2 separate regions of the Homo sapiens genome follow, and region 1 is linked to region 2. Evidence: promoter capture Hi-C in 16 types of primary human blood cells and fetal thymus (Javierre and others, 2016). All regions are on one chromosome and are shown on one strand. Each heading gives the region's core, a stretch centred on a gene start or on the middle of the fragment in contact. The rest is flanking DNA. Distances are from core to core; before and after follow the strand shown. Region 1 holds the start of GBP6 (guanylate binding protein family member 6). Region 2 overlaps GBP7 (guanylate binding protein 7).

Region 1 (5,679 bases), core at 1,519-4,018, 230 kb after region 2:
TTGGGAAACCTCCATACTGTTTTGCAGCGTTGCCTCACCATTTCACATTCTCAACAGTGTAAAAGGATTCCGGTTTCTCTATATCCTTATCAATGCTCATCTATTTTTTTGTAATAGCCATCCTAACAGGTAGGAGGTGATATATCACTATTGTTTTGATTTGCATTTCTCTGATTATTAGTAATGTTGAGAACCTTTTCAATATATTTTCAAAATATTGTATTTTATTTCTGAGCTCTCTATTCTGTTTCATTCATCTATGTGTCTATTTTTATGCCAGTTCCATACTGTCTTAATTACTGTAGATTTGTTATACATTTTGAAATCAGTAAGTGTGATGCCTCCAGCTTTGTTCTTCATTCTCAGGTCACTTTGACTATTCTGGGTGTTTTGTGCTAAGCTCCTGGCTTGACTTCATGGACCATCCAATATATGCAACCCCATAATTAACACATTTTCTAGTTTCCCTATCTAAAGCTTTAGACATCTTGGGGCTTTGCTGATCCTGGAGAGACTGACCCTCCCTGGGCTTGCCAGTTCTTAGAGATACTACAGGATTCTCCTGCAAGTGTGCCTTTCATATGCAAACCAACCAACCTGGAGCCCACACCCCGCCACTTTCTCTGTTGGCTCTCATTCTCTGGGCCACTATCCATCTGCCCTACTCACCGAAAGGCCAAATATCAAAAGTAAGAACAATCCCTCTGCCCCAGAGCCCACTGAAATTATTCCAGCTAGCCAGTCCTAAACCTGCTTGCCCTGCTAGTTCTAGTTCACAGTTGCTCTCGACATTTACTCCAGTTCTTTGCCTCCTTGACTGCAATTGGAACCACCTGGAGGTGGGGCGAGGCTTTAAAAAAACACTCACACTCACCCTCAACTCTAGACTTACTAAATCAGAGTCTCTGGTGATGGATCAGAGCTCAAGTTTTTAAGGAGAACCTCAATTGATGTTTATGTGCAGCAAGTATTAAGAATCACTGGTTTAGTCTTATAACATCTAAAGGAGGCCTCCTACTAGACTCTTTACTTTAGACAAGCTCTGGTCTTTGACTTTTGGCCTCTTCATAAATGCCTTCCAAACTGAAGGTCACATTCCCTTGGTTGGCAAATGCTATTAGAAAAAAAACAGCTTCAATACTCCACTTAACTCTTTGGGCGTTCACCTTCCCTTGGAATTTGGTCTTTAAGATCATTCATGACAAATTAGTCAATTTTTAATATTGCTTTTGAAAATATTAAACATTTTTGAATCCAGAATTTTCCTTTTTTTTTGAGATGGAGTCTCGCTCTGTCGCCCAGGCTGGAGTGCAGTGGCACAATCTCGGCTCACTGCAAGCTCTGCCTCCCAGGTTCACACCATTCTCCTGCCTCAGTCTCCTGAGGAGCTGGGACTACAGGTGCCCGCCACCACACCCGGCTAATTTTTTTGTATTTCTAGTAGAGAGAGACAGGGTTTCCCCCTGTTAGCCAGGATGGTCTTGATCTCCTGACCTCGTGATCCGCCCGCCTCGGCCTCCCAAAGTGCTGGGATTACAGGAGTGAGCCACCGCACCTGGCCCAGAATTTTACATTTTTAACACAAGTCTTTGTCTGAATAGAGTATTCAGATTAGTCTACCACACTCCCCAAATCCTCAGCCTAAGTTATTGCCAAAACTCATGTCTGCTCATTCTGCCACTTGCTTCTGTTCTCAAATCCATTTAGCAGTGCAGCCATGGTAGACAGTCCCAGCATGCTGCTATGTCCTCTGTAGAGAGTCTTTCTCCTTTTCTCACTCAGATGTTTCTCCAAGCTGTGAAAGGGTGTCTATTTTGCCCAAGGGCAGCTTGTGAATTCAAAATAGTTAAAGTCCCTGGGGATAAGACTCAACCAATGGAAACTGTGGGTTGTTGGATAAATAGTCCACATCAAGGGTCCCAAACCCCCAGAGCATGGTCTGTTAGAAACTGGGCCACACAGGAGGTGAGTAGGGAGAGAGCACTAAGGCCTGAGACCTGCCTCCTGTCAGATCAGCAGCAGCATTAGATTCTCATAGGAGCTTGTACACTGTTATGCACTGCACATTCCACCTTCTATGTCCATGTATGCAGATTTTTTAGCTTCCACTTATGAGTAAGAATGTGGTATTTGACTTTCGGTTTCTGAGTTGTTTCACCTAAGATAATGAACTCCAGTTCCATCCATGTTGCTGTAAAAGACATGGTTCATTCTTTTTTTAAACCAGTAATATCTTTAGCTCTCTCTCTTTCTCTCTCTCTCTTCTGTGTGTGTGTGTGCATGTGTGAACACATTTAAAATATCAAAAGTTCTTCACTAACAAAAGACCCCAGAACTCAAGAATTCCCACTAAGAGAAAAATGCTTAAAATATTCTTGGTTTCTAAGGCTTTGCTTATGTGACTACTGTAGATTTCCTGTTTTTCTTGTGTGCCTAGGAAACTAAAGCCACCTGGGAACGGTATCAAGAAGAAAGCCTGTGAAGCCTTCTAAGATGGGAAAGACAAAAGAAAGCTGGCAGGATTGTGCTTGCTAAGGTGTGACTGTGCAGTATCTGTGGCTTTTTCTGACCTCCTCCCACCCCTGCACCCAACACCCATCCTCAAACTCACATCGGATGATTCAGGCATGGCTCTGCTAACACTTTATTAAAAGCATGGATTAATTTTACTTCCAAGTTTATTTTTACTGCACCATCCCATTTGTGGAAACAACTAGCTTACTCAGCTTTTTTTTCCTTTTATAAAGGAAAGAACAGAAAAGTAAAAGGAGGAAAGAAAACAAGAGGTGAGTGAGGCAACTGAAAACTGTTCTTGGACCTGCGGTGCTATAGAGCAGGTATGTTCACTTTCTTTTAAATGCAACTTAGTTCCTAACTCAAGACTTGGTTTCTGATTCAGAGTGGTAACTGAGGAATGGGCAGGAAGGGCAGGGTGCCTGCTGCCTGGCCTGCAGGAGTCTGTGGCTGGCTTTAGTTCTGGGGAAGCTCAGCTTCTCCACTTGAACCAGTGACAGCCGGGCACGCCGCGTCCCCCTGGATGTGCTGTTCCCTGATCATCAACTCAGGACAGCAGTGAGTGGCCTGGAATGAGCCCTGGTGGGCGCCTGCCTGGCTATCTCTCTCAGGTCCTGCGGCAAGCCCCAGAATGCAGAGAACAAGGAGCTTCCAGGCAATTATACCGGAAGGGAGAGTTTCTTGTCTATCTTTCTAGTGGTCACACTTAGGAAAGCTTCAGAATAAGAGCTCTATAAATCTCTATGTAGAAATAAACTTAGGCCCCACATCACTGGTCTTTATTACTTAAAAATAATTATATAGTCCAAACTCTGTGTGTGCGTGTGTGTGTGTGTGTGTGTATGTGTGTGTGGGGAGGGGGTGGGGGAGGAGGGGGGTGTTAGTTTCCCATAGGAACATCAGAGTCTCTTGTAGCTCTTGCTAAACAGATGGATACTTAGGCCTGGGAATCTGGGTTTGAACAATCCTCTCAGTTGATTCTTTAAAAAAAAAAAAGATGAAGAATAGACACTATGTTTAAAATAAAAAAGATTTTTTTAAAAACCACCATGTCCCATGGTGGTTTGCTGCACCTATCAATCCGTCATCTAGGTTTTAAGCCCCGCATGCATTAGGTATTTGTCCTAATGCTCTCCCTCCCCTTGCCCTCCACCCACTGACAGGCCCCAGTGTGTGAGTTTCCCACCCCCACCCCCAGCGCCAACCCCCCGCCGCCCGTGTCCACATGTTCTCATTGTTCAACTCCCACTTACCAGTTAGAACACGCAGTTTTTGGTTTTCTGTTCCTGTGTTAGTTTGCTGAGAATGGGATCTAATTAAAGAGCTTCTGCACAGCAAAAGAAACTATCATCAGAGTGATCAGGTGATTCTTATGTACATCAGAGTGTGAAAACCAGTCCTGAATAGGATTGAACAGCTGTATTTCATTTAGTAGAAGTTAAAAGGTCTGTGGTTCCCACACAGCTAAGAAACCAGAGACCTGGTTTATATAAAGTTGTTTGCAGGAGCAGCCACATCTTCCTAGAGCTGCCTTTATTGTTCACTTTAAAGAAGGGACTGTACAGTTGCAGTCACTGTAATGTGATGAACACGTTACACATCACATTACAATGCATTTCACTGTGGAAATCAGGACCTCGTGTTTGATCTCCATTTTCCTTACTCCCCTCAGTGAAGAATCAGACAAGAGCAGGTTGTACAGCAACAGCGTGCTTGAACTTTACAGTTTTGCTTCCGTGAAAAATTTATTTGTAGTTTTTGTTTCTTAGTAACTTATAGTTTGTATATTTTGTTGAAATATATAATCTAATGGACCAATTGTTATTGTAATTATTGTAGTAACCTCCATTTAATTCAACATTTACTGAAATCCTATTGTGTGGTGCATGCTATGCAAAGATATAAACTTATAATGTCTCGTTTTATTATCAAAACACCCTCCAGGTTGGATGTATGATTTAACTCACAGACCCCTATAATTAACAGGCTCAGCTAGCTTGACCTCCTTGGTCAAGGCCACATAAGTAGTGAATGATAGAGCTGGTATTTTTGGTGGCATTAGATGCATCTTGAGTGTCTGACATATCAATTCTAAACTGAGTATTTGAGGCATTTGAAGACAATATTATGTTTACATTTTTCTAATTATAAGGAAATACAGGTATCATAGAAAACCATTTTAATATAATGGCAATAAAAATGTGCCAGGAGACCTACAGAATAATTGTACTTTCAATACTAAATTTATGGAATTAAACTTCACCTCTAAAAATATTACAATTAAATCCCATATGCCTTTCACCTCGATTCACCCAAAAGTGACATTGACTTTATCTCTCAAAAAGAAATCTCTCTAACTTATCTATTAATATGTATGTACATAATTTCTCTCTCTCTCTAGATATCTATAATTTATCTCCATAAATAATATGCAATATTATATGTATTGTTATTCTTATTCTTTTTCTTATTCTTGTCTGTGGGAGTAAATTGCAGAGAACCTGACCCTTCTAGGCTACGTATTTCAGCCTGTACTTGAATTCTTTAGATTCTGGACATTCTCCTGCTTCCCTTTTGGAAAGATAGCCTGTATTCTCTAGAGTTTTCTCATCCCATAGTGGATCCTTTCCCTTCTCCCTTCTATTCCCATCACTCTTCCAAACCTGTAGATAAAAGACAAACATATAAGGTCACACTGATGCATTAGAGAACAAGTTTCAGTATATGATGATCATTAAAAAGTTACTGCAGGTTGTCGATCAAAAACCTTATAGCATAACCACTGTCTTTGAGGTAGGTTATTTTGACAGATAAGTGGTTGCAGTAGCATAACACAGAGGAATAGGTTGCCCGATTATCCAGGCTTTTGTCTTTTACTCTCTTTTTTGTTGGTAAAATATACATAATAAAATTACTATTTTACTAATTAAGAAAATACTTCGGTGACATTAGTTGTGCAGCTATCTCCAGAACTTCATCATTGTAAACTGAGACTCTCTACCTTTAAACAATGATTCTGCATTCCCTCCTCCCCCAGCCCATGGTAGCTACACTTCTACTTTCTGTCTCAATGTATCTGATTATTCTAGTACCTCATACAATATTTGTTCTTTTGCGCCTGGCATATTTCACTTGGCATAATGTCTTCAAGGTGATCCATGTTGT
Region 2 (5,532 bases), core at 2,516-5,015:
TTGGCACAGGAATGGCTGCAGTGGAGCACAACCAGGAACTCCCATCCCCCAAGGCTTGCCATGCCCAGATACATGGCCTTGGCTTTTGTCGACTATTGGTCCTGGATAGAACTGGGCTATCTTGCCTGTGGGACAGATCCAGTATGGTCTGAGCACCTCCCAGTCTGCTAGCCTCTCTCATGGTCCCTGCCTGGCTGCATCCACTTAAAGTGCAATGTCAGATGCCTAACTGAAGCACTTCCCAGCAGCCATCACCATATCTTCTTTGCTGACATACCCTACCTAACCATCATAGAGCTTCAGCAGATGGGCTCACACCAGTGTGCACTCAATGCACCCTCTCCCCACTGTTTTGCTGGCACACACTCGCTTGCAGCCTCTCACCACCGCTTTGCTGGTACACATACCTGTGCAGACCCTGTCAACCTGCCACCACCAATGCACATGCACAGAACCTGCAGCACTACTGCCCTGCTGCTGCTGCTCACCAATGACCTTGGACCCCACTGCCACTGCTCTGAGAAAGTACTTTTGCCAGCACTCCTCATCGGTGTGTTGTTGCCAGTTAACCAGTAGCAAGTTGGCCCCTGCAGCACAGCAGGTGCTTAACCTAGAGGGGCCAGAGAACAAAGCCATGGGCCTGGTCCCAGCCTACTAAGGTTCAAGCCCCCAGCTCAGGAGTGCTGATCTGAGCCTTGGCCCCTTGAAATCATCCAGAAAAAAAAAAAAAAAACCCAGTCAGATGAACCCAACTTATACCAGTTGAATCTTCAAGAGAATAAAACAAAATAAAAGCCAAAAACCCCATGAAAGAAACAGACACTTCAAAGACTAAAGGAATATCAGCCCACACAGATGAGAAAGAAACAGGGACAGAACTCTGGCAACTCAAAAAACCAGAGTGTCTCTTACCTCCAAATGAGTCCACTAGCTCCTCAGCAATAGTTCCTAATCAAACTGAAATGGCTGAAATAGTAGATATGGAATTCAGAATCTGGATGGCAATGAAGATTATCGATATTTAGGAGACAGTTGAGATACAGTCCAAGGAACTGAAGGAATTCAGTAAAATGACTCAAGAACTAAAAGATGAAATAGCCATTTTAAAAAAGAGCCAAACTGATTTGATAGAGCTGAAAAACATGCTACAAGAATTTCATAATACAATCAGAGTATTAAATGTAGAATAGACCAAGATGAGGAAATAATCTCAGAGCTCAAAAACCCATTTTTCAAATCAACTTAGTCAAACAAAAATAAAGAAAAAAGAATAAAAAAGAATGAACAAAATCTCAGAGAAATATGAGATTACATAAAGAGACCAAACCTATGACTCATTGGCACCCGTGAAAGGGAGAGATAGCAAGCAATTTGGAAAACATATTTGAGGATAATGCCCATGAAAATTTCCCCAACCTCACTAGAGAGGTTGACATTCAAATTCGGGAAATCAGAGAAGCCCTGTGAGATCCTATACAAGATGACCATCCCCAACACATGAAATGGTCATCAGATTTTCCAAGGTCAGTGCAAAAGAAAAAATATTAAAGGCAGCTTGAGAAAAGGGGCAGGTCTTCTACAAAGGGAATCCCATCAAGCTAACAGTGGAACTTTCAGAAGAAACCCTACAAGCCAGAAGAGACTGGGGACCTATATTCAGCATTTGTAAAGAAAAGAAATTCCAAGGAAGAATTTCATATCCAGCCAAACTAAGGTTCATAAGAAAAAAAAAATCCTTTTTAGACAAGCAAATGCTAAGGGAATTTGTTACCACCAGACCTGCCTTACTCAAGCTGCTGAAAAGAGCATTAAACATGAAAATGAAAGACCATTATCAGCCACTACAAAAGCACACTTCAGTACATGGATCATTGACACTACAGAGCAATAACACAATCAAGTGTGGATCAAATCCACACATATCAATATTAACTTTGACTGTAAAAGGGCTAACAACCCCAATTAAAAGGCACAGAGTGGCAAGTTGCATAAAGAAATAAGACCCAACTGTCTTCGATGTTCAAGAGACCAATCTCATATGCAATTACACCAATAGGCTCAAAGTAAAGGGATGAAGAAAAATCTATCAAGCAAATGGAAAACAAAAAGAGCAGGGGTTGCTATTCTTATTTCAGACAAAACAGACTCCAAACCAATAATGATCAAAAAGGATAAAGATGGGCATTACATAATGATAAAAGTTTCAATTCAACGAGAAGACTTAATTATACTAAATATGTATGCACCCAATACTAGAGGACCCTAGATTCATAAAACAAGTTCAAAGAGACCTATGAAGAGACTTAGATAACCACACAATAATAGTTGGAGTCTTCAACACTCCACTGACAATATTAGACAGATCATTGAGGCAAAAAACTAACGAAGATATTCAGGACCTAACTTGACATTTGACCAGATGGACCTAACAGACATCTACAGAACACTCCACCCAACAATAACAGAATATACATTCATCTCATCTGCACATGGCACATACTCTAAAATTGACTCCTTGCTCTGCCATAAAGCAATTCTCAACAAATAAAAAAAAAACCCAAATCATACCAATGCTGTCAGACCACAATGCTGTAAAAATAGAAATCAATACAAAGAATATCTCTCAAAGCTATACAATTACATGAAAATTAATTAATCTGCTTCTGAATGATTTTGGGGTAAACAGTGAATTTAAGGCAGAAATAAATTATTTGAAATTAATGAAAACAAAGATACAACCTACCAGAATCTTTGAGACACAACTAGAGCAGTGTTAAGAGGAATGTTAATAGCACTAAACGACTACAGTAGAAAGTTAGAAATATCTCAAATTAACAATCTAACATTACACCTTGAGGAACTAGAAAAACAAAAGTGAACCAAGCACAAAGCTAGCTGAGACAAGAAATAACCAAAATCAGACTTGAAGTGAATAAAGTGGAGACAAGAAAAACCATACAAAAGATCAATGAAACCAATGGTTCTCTGGAAAAATACATAAGATGGATATACTTCTAGTTAGACTAAAAAAGAACAAAAAAAGAGAAGATCCAAATAAACACAATAAAAAAATGGCAAAAGGGACATTGCTATCAACTCCACAGAAATACAAAAAATCCTGAGAGACTATTATGAACACCACTATGCACACTAACTAAGAAACCTAGAAGAAATGGATAAATTCCTGGAAACATACAACCTACCAAAAGTGAACCAGGAAGAAATTGAAACCTGGAACAGACTAATAACAAGTTCCAAAATTGGGTCAGCATTAAAAAGCCTACCAAGCAGAAAAAGCCCTAGACCAGACAGAGTCATAGTCAGTTCTGCCATACATAGAAAGAAGAGCTGGTACCAATTCTACTAAACTATTCCAAAAAAAATGGGGAGCAGGGAATCTTTCCTAATACATTCTATGAGGCCAGCATCATTCTGATTTTAAAAACCTGGCAGAGACACAACAAAAAAAGAAAAATGCAGGACAATATTCCTGATGAACATGGATGAAAAAATCTTCAACAAAATACTAGCAAACCAAATCCAGCAGCACATTAAAAAGCGAACCCACCACTGTCAATTAGGCTTTATTCCTGGAATGCAAGGTTGATTCAGCATATGCTAATAATAAATTGATTCCTCACACAAACGGGACTCAGAACAAAAACCAGATGATCTTCTCAATGGGCACAGAAAAGGCTTTTGATAAAATTCAATATTTCATGTTAAAATATCTCAACAAACTGGGCCTCAAAGGAACATACCTCAAAATAATAAAAGCCATCTATGAAAAACCCACAGCCAACATCATACTGAATGTGAAAAAGCTGGAAACATTTCACTTGAGAACCAAAAACAGACAAGGATGCCCACTCTCAACAACTCTTATTCAACATAGTACTGGAAGTCCTAGCCAGAGAAATCAGGCAAAGGGGAAAAAAAAAGTTATCCAATAGGAAGAGAGGAAGTCAAACTCTCTCTCTTCATAGACAATAGAATTCTGTAGTTAGAAAACTCCATAATTTCTGCCCAAAGTCTCATCCATCTGATAAACATCAGCAAAGTTTCAGGATAAAAAAGTAAATGTACAAAAATAAGTAGCATTTCTACACACCAATAATGTCCAAGCTGAAAGTCAAACCGAGAACACAATCCTATTCACAATAGCTATTGTGAATAACCAAGAATAAAATACCTAGGTTTACAGCCAATCAGGGAGGTGAAGCATCTCTACAATGAGAATTATAAAACACTGCTGAAAGAAATCTGAGACTGCACAAACAAATGGAAAATTATTTCATGCATATGGATAGGAAGAATCAATGTTGTTAAAATAGCCATACTGCCCAAATTGATTTACATATTCAATGCTATTCCTATCAAATTATCGATGACTTTTTAAAAATAGAATTAGTAAAAACTATTCTAACATCCACATGGAACAACAACAACAAAAAAACCCCGAGTAGCCAAGGCACTCCTAAGCAAAAAGAACAAAGCCAGAGACATCACATGACTTGAGTTTAAACTATATTACAAGACTACAATAACCAAAATAGCATGGTGCTGGTCAAAAAACAAAACAAAACAAAACAGACACATGAACAAATGGAAAAGTTTAAAGAAAGCAGAAATAATACCACACACCTACAACTATCTGATCTTTGGTAAAGCTAACAAAAAAAGCAATGGAGAAAGAATGCATTATTCAATAAATGGTGCTGGGTTAACTGGCTAGCTATATGCAGAAGATTGAAACTGGACCCCTTCTTCTCACTATATACAAAAATCAACTCAAGATGAGTTAAAGATGTAAATGTAAAATTTAAAACTATAAAACCACCAAAAGAAAACCTAGGAAATACCATTCTGGACATAGGCACTGGCAAAGATTTCCTGATGAAAACTTCAAAAGCCACTGCAACCGAACAAAAAGTTAACAAGAGGGACCTAATTCAACTAAAGAGTTCATGCACAACAAAGGAAACTATAAACAGAGTAAACAGACAACCTACAGAATGGGAGAAAATATCTGCAAACTATGCATCTGAAAAAAGTCTAATATCCAGAATCTATAAGGAAGTTAAAGAAATTAAGAACAAAGCAAACAACCCCATTAAAAAATGGGCAATGGACATTAACAGACATTTATCCAAGAAGACATACACATGGCCAGCAAGCATATGAAAAAATGCTCAACACCAAAACAGAGATATAGATCAATGGAACAGAACAGAGCCCTCAGAAATAATGCCACATATCTACAACCATCTGATCTTTGACAAACCTGACAAAAACAAGCAATGGGGAAAGGATTCCCTATTTCATAAATGGTGCTGGGAAAACTGGCTGGCCATATGTAGAAAGCTGAAACTGGATCCCTTCCTTACACCTTATACAAAAATGAATTCAAGATGGATTAAAGACTTAGATGTTAGACCTAAAACCATAAAAACCCTAGAAGAAAACCTAGGCAATATCATTCAGGACATAGGCATGGGCAAGGACTTCATGTCTAAAACACCAAAAGCAATG

What was found. Contacts are between HindIII fragments. The CHiCAGO score rates a contact against its expected background, and 5 or more counts as called.
Region 1: the fragment with the promoter of GBP6 here is called in contact with a fragment that was not itself captured in region 2 in 9 of 17 cell types (total CD4 T cells, activated CD4 T cells, naive CD8 T cells and 6 more); the score reaches 11.8 in total CD4 T cells.

What each region holds. Positions count from the first base shown.
Region 1 is chr1:89,361,291-89,366,969 of GRCh38, forward strand. GBP6 (guanylate binding protein family member 6) reads left to right here and starts at 2,769. Exons shown (of 11, transcript NM_198460.3): 1 at 2,769-2,837. The HindIII fragment of the contact is 2,752 bases long and covers 476-3,227 here.
Region 2 is chr1:89,133,888-89,139,419 of GRCh38, forward strand. The region is part of intron 9 of GBP7 (guanylate binding protein 7); the gene reads right to left. All of the region lies in intron 1 of LOC105378842 (a long non-coding RNA gene), which reads left to right. Among named protein-coding and RNA genes, the nearest start is that of GBP2, 11 kb to the left of the region's middle. The HindIII fragment of the contact is 8,826 bases long and covers 1-5,532 here.